Linked DNA regions of Homo sapiens: region 1 is linked to region 2. Evidence: promoter capture Hi-C in 16 types of primary human blood cells and fetal thymus (Javierre and others, 2016). All regions are on one chromosome and are shown on one strand. The core of a region is centred on a gene start or on the middle of the fragment in contact, and the rest is flanking DNA. Distances in the headings are between cores, read along the strand shown.

Region 1 (5,654 bases), core at 1,010-3,509, 45 kb after region 2:
CATAAATGGTGACACTAAAACTGAAACCTGAAGTTTGGGAAACAGCCTTATAGAGACTGGAGGGGAGAGGTCAAGGTGGGGAGTCACGGGGAGAAGGGGACAAGGTGCTGCAAGAGGAAAGCAGAATCCGCCGGGATGTCTTAAAAATACTCCTGGGAGGATGAGGGATAAAAAACTACATATTGGGTACAATGGACACTACTCAGATGATGGGTGCACTAAAATTTCAGACTTCACTATACAATTCATCCACGTTACCAAAAACCACTTGTAACCCTGAAACTATTGAAATAAAAATAAATAAATAAAATTAAATAAACAAAAAATACTGTTGACCAGATCTCACCTCATACAAATGTGAAAGAAAAATAGAATCTCAGGACCCCAAATTCACTATGCCAAAGGGAAAGTTAAACTTGGGAACTGAGTCATGCAAAAACTTCCTTCCTTTTGTTCCCAGATAGCTGTAATTTCGCATGCTTACTTTAGCTTATGTAAAATGTAGATTTCCTGAGCGCTAATCAGAGCCTCACAAGAATGTAACCACTGGCCTCATTGCTTGCTGTCTCTTTTTTTTCCTTCCCTTCCTGCTTGCTTTTTCTCCTTTACATATTAATGTTTCCAAAACCATCTTTGGAAAAGGTGCAAGTCACAGGTCCTACCATGATTTTTGTTTCTTCTTCCTGGGTGCATTCTCAACCTTGGCAAAATGAACCTCTAATTAATTGAGATCTGCTTCAGTCACTTTTTGGTTTGCACCGATTAAAGCAGAGTGCCTGGTGGAGGCACCTGGGCATGGTTATGCTTTTGAGCTTCCCAGTGCAATCTGGGAAGAGAACTACCATTTTAGGGCAAGCATTTCTTGAAGACCGCAGTAAGGAGTTTGCTTTTTAGTGAGGATGTAATTGGAAGTATCTGGGAGGTTTCAAGCAGAAAAATGACATCCTCACCTTCACTGGTTTAAACTATCAAAAGAACTCGTTGGTGGAAAGAAACCAGCTTTATGAAAGAGGAAACTCTTTTCTAAAACAAGAACAAAAGATGGAGAAAGAAGTACTTTTATAGATAAGTTTAAAAGTGAAAAGGAAAGTTTACATCTAAGAACTTCTGTTTTCTCTAAGAAAGGAAAGACTTGGTCCCACCTGCAATGATTGAGGGGCATGTGGGTGTGGCTCAAAGGAGAAATGGGAGATCAGAAACAGCCAACAAAGGGAACAGGAAAGGAAGACATCTGGTCAATAAGAAGAGCTAGAGGCACCAGGAGCCTCAGCCCTGAAACCAGCTCCTTAGGGAGTTTATCTTAGGTGGAGCCCTCGTCATCAGGTGAGGTTATGTAAGCATCTCTGCTGTGCACAAGGAGAATCTGAGGCCTGTTAGACTGACCAAGAGACACAAGCTGTAGAGCAAGTGCAGGTTAAAAAAGAGGTGGCACAGAGTTGAGCATTGTCAACAGGAAACCACTCTAGAGATTGATCATGGATTCCAGGCTGCATGAGAAAGAAAAGCTTGTTAGGCTGGAACAGTTGAGATCCCGGAGCCTTGGAGCAGCTGAAGAACAAATAGATTTAGTGAGACAGAGAGAAGAGATGGAAGATGTGGACCCAGGGTGGGACTTATTTTTTTAAAGGAGCAGTTTCAAGCAATGATGAGGTCTGGGTTGTGACCACAGGAACAGCAGCAGCAGCATCTAGTTTACCCACCACAGTGTTCAGAGAACCATGCAAGTCAACAGACTTTTGTTTATGAACTGAAGGGTTCAGAACATGACACAACAAAGTATGCCACTTTGGTATAAAGATATTTTGAGCTGAAGGCAGGTGAGAATCAGCAGACACAGAAAAAAAGCTCTCGGCCAGGCGCGGTGGCTCACGCCTGTAATCCCAGCACTTTGGGAGGCCAAGGCGGGCGGATCACGAGGTCAGGAGATCGAGACCATCCTGGCTAACACAGTGAAACCCCGTCTCTACTAAAAATACAAAAAATTAGCCGCGCGAGGTGGCGGGCGCCTGCAGTCCCAGCCACTCTGGAGGCTGAGACAGGAGAATGGCGTGAACCCCTGGGGGCGGAGCCTGCAGTGAGCCGAGATTGCGCCACTGCACTCCAACCTGGGCGACAGTGAGACTCTGTCTCAAAAAAAAAAAAAAAAAAAGAAAAGAAAAGAAAAAAAGCTCTCTACCCTCCTCCTATTTGCCTAAAAGAAGGGCATAAATTTCCTAGACCCTTATCATCCCAGAAATAGTACTGAGAGAAACCTGCATCACAAACGTTACTTAAATAACCCTTATCTTCCATTAGTTTCTTCCACATATTTGCCGTCCCACAATTTACTGCCACTAGAAGCTCAAACCCCTTTCCTTTGTCTTGTCAATTATCTGCAAATGTATTGCCCTTTGTTAAAAGGGCAAAAATAACTGTCGGGTCTAACTACTTCTTTCGGTTTTTATTTCATTTTTGTGAGCCCCTCGTATGCATATAAAATAAACCTTTTTCTCCTGTTAATCTCTCTTTTGTCAGTTCAATTCCAGTCATTGAACCTAAGAGTGCAGAGGAAAAAGCCTTTATTTCTGTCTGACAGGACATTAGTTAGCTTCTGAATTAAAAGTGCTCTACAACCTCCAAGCATTAGAGTATTATTGTTATGAGATACTGGGGAGATAGACTTGAGTCATATGCTTGATGGTGTTCTGGCACCTTCCTTGAAGCATTTAAACCCTGAAGATCAACAATTATTGACCTATATTATCTCAGGGGGTGGGAAAGTTCTCTTTGAAAACAATTCACACCATCATGTTATCAAAAAACTAAAATCAATGACTCAATTCAAAATGTCACTCTGTTGCTGACACCCAGTCCTGACAACTCCCCTGGTTATTTCTGTCTTGGAAACAAGCCTGTCAACATCTTGGTTGGCCAATTGCAAGATTCTTTCCCCAGTCAACTGGAAGTTCGATTGTGAAGCCCAGCTGAAAACTTAGGAACCACTTTGGAGAAGTGAAGGTGAGAAATAAAAACTAAAGCTTCAAGCCCCCTGCTGTGAAGAGCACCACAGTGAAGAGTTAAGATTACTGGCTCAGTGATGAGATCTGGCATCAAGATACATCTCCAACTTACCAGATGGGTAGACTTCCACAAATTTGATTCTTACTGTCCTCTTCTGTAGAGTGTATTCATAATACCTACTTGGTCTTTCCAAGGTATTTATGAATCCACTTCATAATACCTATGAATGAAACCTTTGTTACAAAGGTTAAACAAGATCAAGTACATAAAGCACTAAGCACAGGGTTTGACACATAGCAAACATTCATTAAACAGTAGTTACTTTTATTATTATTATTATCATTATTATTATTATTATTATTACTATTATCAGGTTCCCAAATAGTATGCCGAGAGTAATGAACTGCTTCCAAGTTATTGCTGAGGGATTGTAGCCACTTTAAAGAGCTCTCCAAAGTGATTACACAGCAGCTGGAGGGTGCAGGTAGGAGAGCCCTGATTTGTAGCTACATGCAATTTCATGCTATTACATGATATCTATCTCTGGGTGCACATTTTGCTCTCAGGAGTCATATAAGGTAGCTCCCATTCACCTCTGGATGGTTGTCTGAGATTTACTCCCAAAGGTCTTTGGGAATTCATTCATCTGTTCACTTAATGCATGTAGATATGCATATATAGAGATACATAGATGTATCTCAAACACCTACTCTATTGTGGGTCAAACATCTACCATGCAAAGAGGATTTTAAAAATAAAGAAGACTGGCCCTTCCTTCCCCCAGAGCCTGTGATCAAGGAGGGGTGGGCAATTAGGCAGCCATGACAACATTGAGAGGTAGAAGCCATGAGGAAAGAGCAGTGTGGCCAGGAAGTTCAGGGAGGGGTACCTCACCCATATGAGAGTTTAGAGAAGGCTCCTAGTCTAGACACTGAGCAGTAGGTAGACAGGAAAGGTGAGAGCTGTGGGTGTGTTGAGCAGAGGAAGAGTGAGTGCTAAGGCACCGTGGCCTGAAGGTGTGAGCAGATACTAAGAGGTTAGTATGAGTGAGCATGGCACAGGGCAGAAACCCCATCATCTAACCCCACCCAGGCCATGCAGGGTCTGTGAGCAGTGGAGAACCAATATGGAGTTTTAAATAGAAGCATGAGAGGGTTGGGTTTGCCTTTTAGAAAGATTGCTCTGATGCATTATGTAATTTAAAACAAATTTTTTTAAGTGGAGAAAAGAAAGATAAGCCTGGTTATAGTGTAGATTTAAAAAGTAGTGGGGGAGGGATGGGTAAGACTGGAGGCAGGGAGCACCACTTGGAGGCTGTTCCTATCATCTGAGCAAGGGACGATGGTGCCCTGCCCCAGGGATGGAGAGAAGGACAGTGATGAAGATTCAGGACCTGGTAACTGCTAGGAGTGGTGGGAGAGGGAGAAGGAGGGGTCGAGAATGACGTCCAGGTGTGTCTGCCCTGGTGGATGGACATGCCATTCTCTGAAAAGCTGAAAATGGGAGGAAAAGAAGCAGTACTGAAGTGGGGAAGAGTATGGGGTTCAGTATTGGACATGTTGAGGTGGAGGTGCCTAAGAGACACTACTCGAGGATGACAAGCAGGAGTGAAATAATTCCACCTGGTATGCAGGAAGAAATCCGAGCTGGCAACAGAGTCTTCAGGGTCTCTGGCACAGAGGTCCCAGCATAAGCCACGGGGGCAGTTTAGAGCATCCATAGAGGGGGAGTAGTTAGGACAGGGCAGGGCTTAGGGTAGGACTATGAGTATCATCAACTTTACATCCCCAGGAGGAGCACCTGTAGGAGCCTGAGAAGGATCAACCAGATACATCAAAAGAAAACCTGGAAAATGAGGAATGGTGACGCTCAAATGAAAACTGTTTCAAGAAGGAAGAATGAGGCCGGGCGCAGTGGCTCATGCCTGTAATCACTAGCACTTTGGGAGGCTGAGGCAGTCAGATCACTTGAGGTCAGGAGTTTGAGACCAGCCTAGCCAAATGCCAAAACCCCTCTCTAAGTTTACAGAGACCTGAGCATGTTTAAAGGCTAACAGGGAGAAGTCAGTAAAGAGGAGGAGGCTGAGGGGGCAGGAAGAAGATGTAACATGGGCCAGGCTGAGCCTGAAAGGAGCTGAGCCCGGGCTTCCAGTCACCTCTCCATAGTGGAGACAGCCCTAAGGGTCTCAGATCACCCCGGAGTTCACCATCCCAGTGAGGAGGAGAAGGAAGACAAGGCAGGAAGGGACAAAGGAACATGTAAGTTGTTAGACAACTGGGACCACACCAGTTTGTAAGTTACTAGTACCAGGCCCCAATTATTTAAAGCACCACCATTTTGGGGTAGTGTGACTAAAACTTATTTTTAAAGTTATTCCATGAAACAAAGTTTTCTAGTTTTTTACCAGAATACATTTTTAGATCCTGTAAATGCTTAGAAAAGGGAATCCCAACTGGCAGCCTGTACATCCAATCCAGCTGGCATATAAGTATTTTGCCTAAACGGTGTTAGAAAATATAGGAAATTTCACTTAAAAATCTAGACTGCTAAATTCTTTTGAAAACGAAGATCTGGCAACACCAGCACTGCATGGCATCCCTCAGATATCTGAGTGGCTGCTCTGCCCCCATTGAAAAGGGGCAAATGCACTCCAT
Region 2 (5,224 bases), core at 2,314-4,813:
AGGCAGACCATGTCATATTTGATTTGTACCCCCGGCACCCAGCACAATGCTAAGCACACAATAAATACTCAAGTAATATTGGATGAATGAAGCCTTTCTAGACTTCATCTGTACAATAAAGAAGTTGGAGTAGATGTACTACAGGGTATCTTCAAAGGCTAGCATGCCATGATTTCTATAATTTCAGAAATAAAAGGTTCTGTTTCCTTCTGAAACACCCACATGCCAAAGTCTCATTTCAGCCTGAATTCCTTGCTCTTCTAAGAAAAAGCCTTTGTACATGGCTGTATATGCTTACAGGATTGCAAGAACTGCTTAAGGTTTTAAAATCCAGACTATACAGGCAAGAAATTAAATACTAAGAACACCTTATCTGTCTCTGAGTATTGTGACCCTGAGTGATGTCTCCAATCCCTACCCACTGTTGCTGCTGACTTGGGCAAGTATACCTGCTGTTCAAAGACCATCTGAAATTACCTCTAAGAAGGAATTGCTTTGAAAATGAAGCTTATAATTAAACAGCAATTGAAGTTTCCTGTGGTTTTATGCCCGGGTCTTATCTAATGCCTAAGTAGATAAACTGCATGGCTTAAAAATCAGAAAAGAACTGGATGTTTGTACAAGTGACAGGAGGTCTCCACTCAGCAATCTTGCTTCTTTAGGACCCAACTTTATTTCCAGCACTATTGTCAAAACACGTCCACAACACTGACATCAGCTCAGCCCTGCAGAAGTAACTACAAGAGAACCAAGGAACATTAGAGCTAAAATGAATCTTACCTAGCACCTCATTCAAAGTCTTTGTTTCATTAAGAAGTTGAAACACAGGAAGGTAAAGTTATTTTCCTAGGGTCACCACCATAAGAGGGGATAATCAAAGGACTTAGGAGGTAAAACTATAATGACTTGGGTGACTTACTGGACGTAGGCTGTTAGGGAGAGAAAGGAGTAGAGAACAATTGCAAATATTCTCAGTTGGCAAATGGAAGGAATGATGAGGTTGGGTTTGGAACATAATCCCAAAGGACACAATCCCAAACCCCACAATCCCTAATGTTGAAATCCCCATAGATCAAAATCACTAAAGTCTAAATCCCTGAAGTCTAAAGTCCCTAGCAAGTGTGAGGTGTCTGCATACCATCCAGATTAGAGATATCAAGCAGACAGTTGGATATTATAGATTTGGGGCTGAGGGAAAATGACAAAGCTAAAGAGAGAGTTTTGGGAGTCATCAGCCTATTCAGGCTGTTCGAGGCTATTACAGAATGAGAAGAAAGAGAAGAGAAATCAAGAAAGGGGAGAAGCAAGAATAGAACCCACAGAACATCAGTATCTAAGGGGTTTGTTAAAATAAAAAATAAATAAAATAGGAGTTTATAAAGTAGCCTACAAATAAGTGACCAGGGAGATAGGAAGAAAACTAGGATAGAATGGTGTCAGTAAAAGAAACGGTTTTAAGAAGGGAAAACTTTTCAATAATTGTAACACACGTAGCGAGCTGCTTCCCCAGTATTTAAAAGGAGCAGTATGCTGCTCCTTTTAAACAAAACCCTTTTTTCAGACCATCAGTGGATCTGGTAAATAAATAAACAACAATTTCCCAGGTACCTTTGTATCCCAAAGCTCATCCATCTCTGGTCAATTACAGGCAGATGCCTATCTACTTGGGGGGGCTGCCAGGAAAATTATTATTGTCCTCATACAAGTGGCCAAAGAACTGGCACCTCACTTTTACCCTTTGCATTTTCTCCTTTCTTCCCTCCTAAATGATTCTATGCCTAAAGGTGCAGCAGCTGTCTAATGGTCATGAGTACAAAAGATACAAAATAGATGATGGAGAGGAAAATGAGAAGGATCTGCTTCCTGATCCACCCCTTTGAAAGTGAGAAAGTTGGGAGTTGACCTTGGCTCCTCCCTTCATCTCACTTCACTGTGCTCCAAGACACTTCACTCAACCCTTAAATACCCTCAGATCTGCTTCCTTCCAACTCCTCTACCAGCCCGACATTGTTAAGGCCACATCATGTCTTGCCCGGCTTACTGAACTTCTCAGCTTACTGAACAAGACTCCCGGCTTCCAGACTTACCAGCTCCAACCTATGCTCTCACCTGCCGCCCCTTTCAGTCAAACTGGAATGTTTTTGTATTGATCTTTGCTTAAAATACATCAAGCGTTCTTCATTGCCTAGTGGATAAAAAGTCCTTAGTCTCACAGCCTTTATGATTTGTTTGGCTCCTGTCATACATGATGAAGACACTAATTATGATGACAAATATATATACATATACATGTGTACGTGTGTGCATGTGTGTGTAATTTTTGTACACAGACTATGTACCAAGCATTGTGCTAGGAACTTTACGTTTATTTAATCCTCACAATGTTTCCTCATATATTTGGTATTAATCTCATTTTACAGATAGGACGACTGATTCTCAGAGAGGTTAAGTCACTTGCCCAGGAATATACAGCTAGTTTAACTGGGGAAGGCCTGGATGTGAAAATTCTTTCCAGTAAATCAGTGTCTTGACATGAAAGCATGTACCGCTCATCAACCTGTTCTCCACCGCCCTCCTCTATCCTAAATGGGCAGCCCTGTTGAAGAATCACAGCCAAAGCCAGTCTTGCCCCCCGGGGCCAGAGGAATCCATCTGCCCCTGCCTACCAGAGCGGGAGGAACGCAGGCTCTCAATGCCTGCTTCAGCAAGGGAGGAGAGAATCGCCCAGAGCTGAGCGGCGTCGTAGGGTGGTGGTCCTGACCGGTCAAGGCCCCTTCTCCTCGTGAACTGGGGGCCAGGGAGCCCTTCTCCCTGTCCCCCCGGCACCACAGCGCTGTAGAAGTGAAATCCCGGCTCCAAGGTCACCCTCTCCCGAGCCTGGAGCTGGAAAGCCACGGGGACTCCGGGGACTCCCCCAAGGCCCGGACTAGCCTGGCACCCACCCCTCACCACTAACCCACTCCGCCTGGGCGCTGGTTCTGTGCGCTCCCGCGGCGCAGTCGCTCCGCTGCAAGAGCGCTTTCGCGCGCCGCCACCGCCCAGAGCCGGGACCAAAGCAGTCCTCGGGCACCGGCTCCCCGAGGGACACACACCCCCCCGCGCCCCGAGTCGAGGGGTTGAGAGAAGGGCGGTCGGGGAGCCCCTGGGCCTGCCGTCAGTCACCCGGATTTGTAACTGGAGAAGGGTGCGGGTCCCGGAGGGACATCTCCAGCTGGCACCTAACTCCTCGGATCCCGGACTGGGAGCCCGAGCTCGGATATTGCAACGGCTGCCCCGTGGGCAAACCGACCCTGGTTTCCGACTCCGGCCACTGGCAGCCTCGCGCCCCAGACCCTTCCCGGGCACGGAAGCGGGTCAGGTCGCCCTGCTCAGCCTCCGGAACGGCGGCGGCACAAACCCCGGCCGCTCCCAGCAGCCCCGACGAGACCCCGGGCAGCGCCTGCCGCCGGGTGGCCTCCCTCTGGGGCTGACCCCCTCGCGCCCCCGCGCGTCTGTCTGCGTTTCTGAGCCTGCTCTGACAGTGATGTAACAAGGCCAGGCTCGCGCCGCGTCCCCTCTTTCCCAGACTCAGTGCTCCCTCCTCCTCCCGCGCCCCGCGCTCTGCGCGCTGAGCTGGCGCCGGGCTCCGCTTGCACAGCACCGGGACCGACGGGCACTGCTGGGAGAGCCGCTCTCCCAGGTTCCACCTCCCCGATGCAGAGTCCGTGGGGGAAACCAGGCTTTCCTCCCAGAACCAAGGGAGCGAGCCGAGGGGGCAGCTGCTGTGGGGGCTTCTGAGGAGACAGCCTGGCTTCTTTCCCTACTTCCTGGAGAGGGCAGGAAACCTCAGGTACCTCGTTGACCCCAGCCGGAGCGTGTTGATATGAGAGAGAGACGGAGGTTGCAATAGTGAGAGGAAGAGAGGGAGGGCACAAGAAAGGGAGGGAGGGAGAGGGGACGGAGAGAAAGAGTAGAAATAGAAACAGGGAGAGATTGCAAGAGAAACGCAGAGAGAGAGATAGAGAGATTGCAAGAGAGATACAGAGACAGAGATCAAGACTGAAAGTCAAGAAGCAAGTCGGAGACAAAGGGCAAGAGAAAGACAAGAGTTGATGGGTGGGAGCTTGACTTGGATTTTTTTTTAACGCACTGTGGTTTCATCTCTGACAGAATAGAGGAACGCTGCTCCCTGGTCAGCAAGCAGCCCCCAACCTGGATGGAGTGAAACATGCGGCCTGATGACATTAACCCGAGGACTGGGCTGGTGGTGGCCCTGGTCAGTGTCTTCCTCGTCTTTGGTTTCATGTTCACCGTCTCTGGGATGAAAGGGGAGACTTTGGGAAACATCCCCCTCCTGGCCATCGGGCCAGCCATCTGCCTACCAGGCATCGCAGCCATTGCCCTGGCCAGGAAAACCGAGGGATGCACCAAGTGGCCAGAGAACGAGCTGCTGTGGGTCCGCAAATTGCCCTGCTTCCGGAAACCCAAAGACAAGGAGGTGGTAGAGCTGCTGAGGACCCCTTCAGACCTAGAATCCGGCAAGGGGAGCTCAGATGAGCTGGCTAAGAAGGCGGGCCTCAGGGGGAAGCCTCCCCCACAAAGCCAGGGTGAGGTGTCCGTGGCCAGCTCCATCAACAGCCCCACACCCACGGAGGAAGGAGAATGCCAGAGCCTCGTCCAGAATGGGCATCAGGAGGAGACGTCCAGATACCTGGACGGCTACTGCCCCTCGGGCAGTTCCCTCACCTACAGTGCCTTGGACGTCAAGTGCTCAGCAAGGGACAGATCTGAGTGCCCTGAGCCTGAGGATAGCATCTTCTTTGTGCCCCAGGACAGTATCATCGTTTGCTCCTACAAGCAGAACAGCCCGTATGACAGATACTGTTGTTATATCAATCAGATACAAGGCAGGTGGGACCACGAGACCATCGTCTAATCTCTGCCTACAAAGGTGGCTGGATTGATAGAATATGACTAAGCCCAGCTCCCCGTGGAAGCAAATTGCTCTGCTTGGAGAGCCTTCACACTGTTAGAAATTGACCTGGTATGTGATGGGTGTGATAACCTCTGGTACCCGAGAGTCATGTAAATAGGCATGTTGGGGACACATTTTAGGGAAGGGCGATGAGGGTTAAGGACACTGGAAGAGGCAGTGGGTAGGAAAGGAAGCTACTCCAGTTGCTTCTTAACAATTTACACAATGTTAAATGTTTTGTAAAATAACCCAAAAAGTGCTATCCAGAAC

What was found. The method cuts DNA at HindIII sites, captures the fragments that hold promoters and counts their contacts. A CHiCAGO score of 5 or more calls a contact.
Region 1: a fragment that was not itself captured here is called in contact with the fragment with the promoter of TMEM215 in region 2 in 1 of 17 cell types (M0 macrophages); the score reaches 5.3 in M0 macrophages.

The regions. Positions count from the first base shown.
Region 1 is chr9:32,826,611-32,832,264 of GRCh38, forward strand. No RefSeq gene overlaps it. Among named protein-coding and RNA genes, the nearest start is that of TMEM215, 46 kb to the left of the region's middle. The HindIII fragment of the contact is 1,512 bases long and covers 1,504-3,015 here.
Region 2 is chr9:32,779,977-32,785,200 of GRCh38, forward strand. TMEM215 (transmembrane protein 215) reads left to right here and starts at 3,564. Exons shown (of 2, transcript NM_212558.3): 1 at 3,564-3,829; 2 at 4,150-5,224. The coding sequence starts at 4,208. The coding sequence ends at 4,915. It overlaps LOC105376017 (a long non-coding RNA gene), which reads right to left and starts at 2,930. Exons shown (of 7, transcript XR_929559.2): 1 at 2,667-2,930. The HindIII fragment of the contact is 4,873 bases long and covers 506-5,224 here.